3 separate regions of the Homo sapiens genome follow, and regions 2 and 3 are each linked to region 1. Evidence: promoter capture Hi-C in human tissues and cell types (Jung and others, 2019). All regions are on one chromosome and are shown on one strand. The core of a region is centred on a gene start or on the middle of the fragment in contact, and the rest is flanking DNA. Distances in the headings are between cores, read along the strand shown. Region 1 holds the start of OSM (oncostatin M). Region 2 holds the start of CABP7 (calcium binding protein 7). Region 3 overlaps NIPSNAP1 (nipsnap homolog 1).

Evidence for each region. Contacts are between HindIII fragments. The study calls those that stand out against the background at their distance.
Region 2: the fragment with the promoter of CABP7 here is called in contact with the fragment with the promoter of OSM in region 1 in 3 of the 25 tissues and cell types used here (mesenchymal stem cells, small bowel and spleen).
Region 3: a contact is called between a fragment that was not itself captured here and the fragment with the promoter of OSM in region 1, in 1 of the 25 tissues and cell types used here (lymphoblastoid cells).

What each region holds. Positions count from the first base shown.
Region 1 is chr22:30,265,510-30,268,209 of GRCh38, forward strand. It overlaps OSM (oncostatin M), which reads right to left and starts at 1,342. Exons shown (of 3, transcript NM_020530.6): 1 at 1,257-1,342. The coding sequence starts at 1,290. RefSeq lists enhancers at 506-585, 646-745. The HindIII fragment of the contact is 14,267 bases long and covers 1-2,700 here.
Region 2 is chr22:29,718,594-29,721,293 of GRCh38, forward strand. CABP7 (calcium binding protein 7) reads left to right here and starts at 1,410. Exons shown (of 5, transcript NM_182527.3): 1 at 1,410-1,940. The coding sequence starts at 1,832. CABP7-DT (CABP7 divergent transcript) reads right to left here and starts at 1,310. Exons shown (of 3, transcript NR_186695.1): 1 at 955-1,310. The HindIII fragment of the contact is 29,567 bases long and covers 1-2,700 here.
Region 3 is chr22:29,567,790-29,570,489 of GRCh38, forward strand. NIPSNAP1 (nipsnap homolog 1) reads right to left here. Exons shown (of 10, transcript NM_003634.4): 2 at 2,616-2,700; 3 at 2,373-2,418; 4 at 1,404-1,498. Among named protein-coding and RNA genes, the nearest start is that of NIPSNAP1, 12 kb to the right of the region's middle. RefSeq lists an enhancer at 1,391-1,685. The HindIII fragment of the contact is 3,498 bases long and covers 1-2,700 here.

The sequences.
Region 1 (2,700 bases), core at 92-2,591:
TCCCTGCAAGACCACTGGGCTAAAGACCGGCCACTGCCCTAGGACCTGCCTTGTCAGCTGCTCTGGCCATCCAGGTAGATGGGCCTGAGAGGGCTTCAGGGCAGGCAGCCCGGGAGCAGCTTGTGTCCTCAGCTCTGTCTAGAACCAGGAGAGGCTGCCTTTTCAACCAGAGGTGCAGCCTGGAACAGATGTGGAAGACCTTCCAGTCCATGTCCCCACTTTCCTGACAGGTAAACCAAGTCTCAGGAGAAGGTCCTACTCAGGTCACACAAGGCCAGGGCTCTCCCCTGACCTCTCTTGCCTCCCTCCTCTCTCCATAAGTGGCTCCTTCTGTCAGGCCCACCAGGGATGCTGTGAGCCTGTCAGAAGGTGTTGGGGGCGGGTACAGTTACCGCTCACCACCACCCCCAACGGGGCACCGGCAGCCACGTGGTCGGAAGGGGCCTATGGCGCAATGGCCCGGAAGGCAGTGACACCATCGTTCCCGTCCTAAGAACCATCCGGCCCTTTGGGGAAGACTGGCTGTTGGGGAGGGCCAAGGGGCCAGGCACCCAGGCTTAGCGACCCCACGGCACCCTCGCCGCCTCCCCAGGTATCTGCTGCCGGGCTCTGGCAGGGGCCTGTGCCTGTGGCAGCGCACGTGGGACTGGGGTTTCTGTGTGGCTGTGCATCTGGGTCTGTGTGCGGCGTGAGGGAGACCTGTTCCGTTCACCATGGGGACTCTGGTCTGCATGTGGGGGTTCCTGGGCTGGTGAGATCCAGGGCTGTAGATGACGTCATATGGCTGTGTGCGCATGTGGCCATGTGGGTGTGGCTGTGCATGCTGTGTGATTGTGTGGGCCCTGGGGCCCCCAGGCCTGGCTGACTTTCTATTCATCCCGGGCAAGCTGGAGGCCCCACAACCCCTCCACACCTCACACCACTTCCCTGCCCAGCTTCTGAGCCTCCCTCTCCTGCCCAGCCTCTTTGCCCATCCTATTCTCTCACCCCCTGGTTCCCAGAGTTGCCTCTACATCTTGACATCACCTCCCCCTGGAAGCCTTCCAGGGATGCCCCTTCTCTACCTGTGGAGATGCCAGGTTCTCAGTGGACCACTCTCTCTGCCTGACCTCCTGGCTCTCTCCCCTTCTCAGCATCCTTCTGCCTGGCGCCTGGCCTCCCCAGTTCCCGGAGGGCAGAGGGTGCCTCTGCTCCCCACCGGCACCCGTGGGCAGACCCAGCAGGCGGGTTCTGGCGGGGAGGAAGGAAGTACTTACTGAGCAGCGTCCTCTGTGTGAGCAGTACCCCCATGCTGGGTGCCCGTGCTCCGGCCCGCGCCCGCTGGGGGTGACACCTCTCGGCTGGGAGCCCTGCAGGCTGGCAGCCACTTTATGCCCGCTGGGGCGATTGGCCAACACCTCATGAGGTGGGTGGGGATGGGGAGGGGGGAGGGCAGGCCTTCTGGGAACATGACCCCAAAAACCAAAATTTCCACGGGCGGCCAATGGGCGCAGGGCGCGGTGTATGCCCGCTCCTCCTCCTGTTTTCTTCGAATTCGTTCTTCGAGGTCAGCCCTACGCCCAAGGATGATGTAAAACCGCAGCCTCAGCCTTCCTAGGGTGAGTGGGGAGGAAAAGGGTCCATGCCATCTTCAGGGAACTGGGCCAGGGATGGGCAGGAGGGACTTCGAGCTGGGCCTCTGGAGGCCCCAGGCCAGTCTTGGCCCAGGAGCCATTGGCCTCACAGGACACGGTGGTTGGGGGCTGAGGGGAGCGAGACATCTTCCTTCTTGAGTGCCCTTCCTGCCCTCTCGCCGGGGCTGTTGGGACATCTGTGAGCGGAAACCACCGGGCTCTGGGCACAGAGCCAGACGCAGGCTGGCAGCCCCGAGATTGTGGTTCAGGCCCCAGGACCAGCATCCCCCAGCCCGGCTCCCGACGGTCTCCTTTCCCCCATCGTGCACCCTCTGCCAGGCCCACTCCCCAAAGCCAGGCCTTGTCTTTGTAGGCAGGCTCCACTGGGGAGAACTGGACACTTGGAGCAAGAGAAACAGGAGGCCAGGGTTCAAGCCTGCTGAGGTGCTGTGTGACCTGAGGCAAGTCACTTAACCTCTCTGGGCCTCAGAGACCCACAACTATAAAATGAGGAGGAGAAAAGCCTTTCCCAGCCCACCTCACAGGGTTGCTGCCAGCATGGACATAAAAGGAAAAGACCTCTGAAGGAAAAAGCAAAGATGAAGGTCTGATTCCAAGTATTAGCTGTCGAGGGGGCGGGATGGGGGAAGGAGGAGATGGGGAAGCTGTGAGCTCAGAGGGGAAGCCGGGGAGGGGGAGTTGCCGCCTTGACAGTTGGGGACCAGGTTTCACTTTCTCTGAAAGATAGCGATCTTAGGTTGGTCCTCTGCGAAAGGGCCCTGGGAACAGCGCCTCCCTAGTCAAACTGCTACTTTACTGTGGGGTAAACTGAGGCCTGGGTGAAGGCAGACAGGGAGGCCAAGAGGCTGGCCCAGGCCTATAGACCCTGCCTGGTCAGCACATCTCCCAGGCCCAGAGGAGGGTCCTTGGCCTGCACCCTAAGAAGCCCGGGTGGGAGGAGGCCCTCAGGAGTCTGGGGAGTCAGGGTGGGACTCCTGGAGGCTGCCAGGGAGGCCTGAGCTGCTCCAGCTGGAGGGAGCATGGGGTCTGGGGCGCCTGAGCAAGGAGAGCTGGGGCAGCCAGAAAG
Region 2 (2,700 bases), core at 160-2,659, 550 kb before region 1:
AGTGGGCAACCAGCTAGCCCGGAGAGGTCTGGGGAGACAGACAGACAGCTGGTGTCCTTCCTGGCTCCTCCGCAGGTTATAGATGTTTCTAGGAGCTCCCTCCAGAGCAGGGCCCAGGAAGTGCTGGGCCCAGGCTGACCCAACCCCGCTTGGCTGGGGCTAGCATCTCTCACTGAGCCCCTTCTCCCCAGACCCTGAGACAAGGCTGCGATTAATCAGTAACAAAAACAGAAACAAGCAGAAAAGTGTAATCAGCTTGGGAAGGGCAGGGCAGGACCGGGCAGGGCTGTGCAATCAGCGTTCCTGCTGGGACCTTTAGCTGATTGGGCCAAAGGGGGCAGGGAGGTGGTCCCAGTAGGGGGATTCAGGGAAGCACCCAGAGATGGGGCCACAGCCAGGCCAGAAGGTCACCCCCTCCCATGCACATCTGTGCACCATATGCCCACACCACTCCCAGCCCCAGGGCCTGCACACCTCCCCCGACCTGCCAGCGTACAACCTTGGCACACACAGGTGGCCACACACTCCCGACATTTGTCCATCTGCATATGGAGTCACAGACACCTGCGCACGTGCCCAGTGGCACATACACACCCTCATGGATAGCAGACATATGCACACGCAGGCTGCTCCCTCAAACACCTGCCCCCACCCCAGCTCTGGGGTGCCGACGTGCCCTGGGGCCTGGGGAAGCCCTGCACATACATTAGGTCTGAGCTGCAGCCATGTGAACTGGCAGGCCCTCACACCAGACCCCACAGGCACCGGGCCATGTCTCTGTCCCGAACTGCCCTGGGGGCCATGAGACACTTTGGCTCCTCTTCTGCAAGCTGAAAGGTAGGGGCTTGGGAAGGGTCCGGGACTGGGGCCCCATTGTGGGGAGCAAGGTCAGCGGCAGGGTGTCAGTCACAGGCAGGGCAGGAAGCCTACCCCAGACGTGTACCCAGCTCTTACCTGCTGCTCCTGCCCTGTGACCTTGGTCAACGTCCTTCTCTCTCAGCCTCAGTTTCCCCACCTTGGATCCTCCTGGCACGGAAACGGTGACTCTTCTTGAGGACCCAGGTGCTTGGGGCCAGTCTCACCTCTCTGGGTCTACAGTTCTTAGTTCCGGGCTCTCCGCTCCTGGTGCGTGGATGGGGGAAGGTGAGCCAAGGGGCAGGAAGGAGGACCCCCGCAACCCACCCCCTCCCTGGTCCTGGTGGCTGCAGACTTAGGGTGAGGAGAGCCAGTGAACAGAGGGGAGCCCTAGTGGGAAAGGGGAATCGGGGCCGAAGGGGAGAAGGAGCCCCGGGCAGGTTTGGGGCGGCCGCTCAGGGGCCGGCGGCGGGAAGGGGCGGGCTGGGGGTGGGGAGCGCGGAGGGGGCGGGCGGGCGGCTGGCGGGGGAGGCGGGGAGCGCAGCCAGCGCGGCACAGAACGAGCGAGCGAGCGAGCGGAGAGGCGGCTACAGCCTGAGCGCCGGGCCGGTAGCGGCCGCGCCGGCGAGCGGACTAGCGGGCGGCGAGCAGCGCGGAGCGCGCGGGGCACCGAGGAGCGGGCGCGGCGGGCACCGCGCGAGGCAGCCGGAGCTCTCGGAAAGGCCAGAGCGGCGCCGCCCCCGCTGCCCCTGCGGGGCCCCGGCTGGGAGCCCGACGAGGGAGCGGGCGGCATGGCCCGGCGGCCCGGGGCGCGGGGGCGCTAGGCCCCCGGAGGGGCGTCCCCAGCCTCGCCGCTGCCGCCGCCGCCCTCCGCAGCCGCGCGCCCCGCCCGCTCCAGCCGCCCCCGGGGCCGCCACCGGCCCATGAGCCCCGGCCTCAAAGTTTGCGGCGGGCGGGCGGGCGCGGAGCCTCCAAGATGCCGTTCCACCCGGTGACGGCGGCGTTGATGTACCGGGGCATCTACACCGTGCCCAACCTGCTGTCGGAGCAGCGCCCGGTGGACATCCCGGAGGACGAGCTGGAGGGTGAGTGTCCGCCGGGATCCCCGCCCCGGCGGCCCTCCTACCTGTGCGCCCAGGTGAAGCGCGGGCCAGGGGCGCGGGGGCGGGGGGCGGGGGGCGGTCCGCAGGTGCCGGTTGCCAGGTGGGCGCCCCAGCTAGCAGCTGTGCCCCGCGGCAAGACCTGTCCGCACCCCGGGGCGCCGCGGTGGGGGTCGCTCAGGCGGAGAGCGGCCCAGCCCCTGCCCGCGTGGTCCCCAGCGCTGCGGAAACTTGCCGGGCCCCGCAGCGGGGTCACGGGGCCGCGCAGTCGGCGGTGACGGTGCGGCAACGCGGCGGACTGGGGCGGGGGTCCGCGCTGAGCCCCCAGCGCCGGCCCGGCCGGAGCACCCGCATCCTGATCCCCTCCGCGGCGCCCGCCCGCGGCTCTCTGCTCGCATTGACATTCCGCTCGTGTCGCTTTAAAAATTCAATCTGCTCGGGCAGCAGCAGAAGGGGAGAGGGCGACTGCCCTGCTCTTGCCCGCTGCGGGGCCGCCCCCGTCCCCACCTGCGGCCGTAGCCCCTTCCCTGCAGCCCTGCGGGGACCCCCAGCCCGGCGCGCCGGGAAGGCGGCCCGGGAGGCGGTGGCGACAACAAGTGGCCGGACTGGGCGGCTAAGTCGCGATAGCCAAGCCTGGAAGGGAAAGGCAGAGAGGCCAGGACCCAAACCCGCCCCCACCCCGTTCCCCCTGCCTCTCAGACTCGCAGGGGGATGGCAGGCCGCTGGCTGGGCGAGGTCAGAGCAG
Region 3 (2,700 bases), core at 155-2,654, 700 kb before region 1:
AGGCTGTGTGAGCTGTGATCACACCACTGCACTCCCCACTGGGTAACAAGACCTGGTTTCAAAAATAAATAAATAAATGAAAATTTAAAAATGAATAAAACTGAAAGGCCAGGCACGGTGGCTCATGTCTACAATCCTAGCACTTTGGGAGGCCGAGGAGGTAGGATCATTTGAGTTCAGGAATTCAAGACCAGCCTGGGCAACATGGAGAAACCCCGTCTCTACCAAAAAACACAAAAATTAGCCGAGCATGGTGGAGCGCACCTATAGTCCCAGCTACTCAGGAAGCTGAGGTGGGAGTACTGCTTGAGCCTGGGAAATTGAGGCTCGAGTGAGCCAAGATTATGCCACTGCACTCCAGCCTGTGTGACAGAGCAAGACCCTGTCTCAAAAAAAAAAAAAAAAAAAAAAAAGGCCGGGAGTGGTGGCTCACTCCTGTAATCCCAGCACTTTGGGAGGCCGAGGCAGGTGGATCACCTGAGGTCAGAAGTTCGAGACCAGCCTGACCAACATGTGAAACCCCATCTCTACTAAAGATACAAAATTAGCCAGGCCTGGTGGCACAGGCCAGTAATCCCAGCTACTCGGGAAGCTGAGGCAGGAGAATATCTTCAACTCAGGAGGTGGAGGTTGCAGTCAGCCAAGACTGTGCCACTATCTGCCAGCCTGGGTGACAGAGCGAGACCCTGTCTCAAAAAAGAAAAAAGAAAAAAAAAAAAAAGGCCGGGTGCGGTGGCTCACACCTGTAATCCCAGCACTTTGGGAGGCTGAGGCAGGTGGATCACCTGAGATCAGGAGTTCAAGACCAGCCTGACCAACATGGTGAAATCCCGTCTCTACTAAAAATACAAAATTAGCTGGGCGTGGTGGCACATGCCTGTAATCCCAGCTACTCAGGAGGCTGAGACAAGAGAATTGCTTAAACTGGGGAGGCGGAGGTTGCAGTGAGCCGAGATTGCACTACTGCACTCCAGCCTGGGGCAACAAGAGTGAAACTCAGTCTCGGAAAAAAAAAGAATAAAAGACAGTGATCCAGGTAAAGCAGGCAAACAAGAAATAATGCTTAAGGCAGAAGAAAGAGAATGAGCAGTAGTCTGGAACTAAAGAGTGAAACTGTCAATCTGAGGAACTGAGTCCTGGGTGGGACAGCACAGCGAGGCATGGAGGATTTGGTGCCATGAGGCTGGGGGCAGGGCCGGGAAGGAGTCACAGGCTTCACGGGTCACCTTGAGGGCACAGGGGAGCCAGGACAGGTATTTGAGCAGGGGAGTGAGGTGATGAGGTTTTAGTAAGAGCCCCACCAGGTGCTGTTGTGGAGAGGGAGTGGAGAACAGCCAGGTGTGAAAGGTGCTGGAGGCCAGGGCTGGGCAGTGGCAATGGCACTAGGGAGGTGAGCGCCTTACCTGCCTGGTCCTGCTCCCCATACCACGTGTTCCAGTTGCCCACGAGTGAGCATGGGTAGTCCTCATCCAGGTGAAGCTTGGGCAGCACAGCCTCCCTGTGGGGGAGGTGCAGAGAGGGGCAGGGTTCACATAGCCACCAGGGCCTCTGAGATAAGGGTTCAAACTCAGTTCAAACAGACCCTGGGGCTGGGCCTCAGACTCTCCATCTCTAAAATGCAGAAGCTAGGCAAGAGGCCCTCAGGACTTCCGACACTGAAATTTACATCCTGGCTGGGCACAGTGGCTCACACCTGTAATCCCAACACTGGGAGGCTGAGGCAGGAGGATTGCTTGAGCCCAGTAGTTTGAGACCAGCCTGGGAAGCAAAGTGAGATCCCATCTCTCTTTTTTGTGTGTGAGACAGAGTTTTGCTCTTGTTGCCCAGGCTGGAGTGCAATGGCGCAATCTCGGCTCACTGGAACCTCCGCCTCCTGGAGACCATCTCTTAAAAAAAAAAAAAAGAAAGAAAGAAAATGGGGCCAAACGCAGTGGCACATGCCTGTAATCCCAGCACTCGGAGGCCGAGGCAGGTGGATCACCTGAGGTCAGGAGTTTGCGACCAGCCGGACTAACATGGTGAAACCCTGTCTCTACTAAATACAAAAAAATTAGCCATGCTTAGCGGCGCATGCCTGTAATCCGAGCTACTTGGGAGGCTGGAACAGGAGAATCGCTTGTACCTGGGAGGCAGAGGTTGCAGTGAGCCGAGATCGCGCCATTGCACTCCAGCCTGGGCAACGAGAGCAAAACTCCATCTCAAAAAAAAAGAAAGAGAGAAAGAAAGAAAGAAAGAAAAAGGCAGAAATAAAAGAAATCTACATCTCCTGGATTTCTACAGAAAAGAACAGGGTGGAGGATGTTCCGCAAATTTGCTGAAAGTGTGTTCCCCACCCAAGCAGGGGATGGGATGTATGGATGCAGGGTGCTCACGTGAGGCTGTTGTAGGCATCCAGGTATTCAGGCTTTACATTGTGAACTGCAACAGAGGACAGAGAACAAGAAGTGAGGTAGGGTGTGTACACAGGGAAGAACTTGGGGTGAGGGGAGCCCATCAAGGCCAGGGGTCCCAGGACAGCTGAGGACATTCCAGACCCTCCCATCTCCTTCCTGGAGCCTCACAGGCCCCCAGAGCCCCTGAAAGGGCAGAAATTGGTCAGCTCAGCAGCCACTCACACTGGATCTTATAGAGGTTGCTGGTTTCCTTCTTGGACAGCAGGGTGGAGTGGGCATCCTTCCGGGGATCCACTTTGTGAACAAA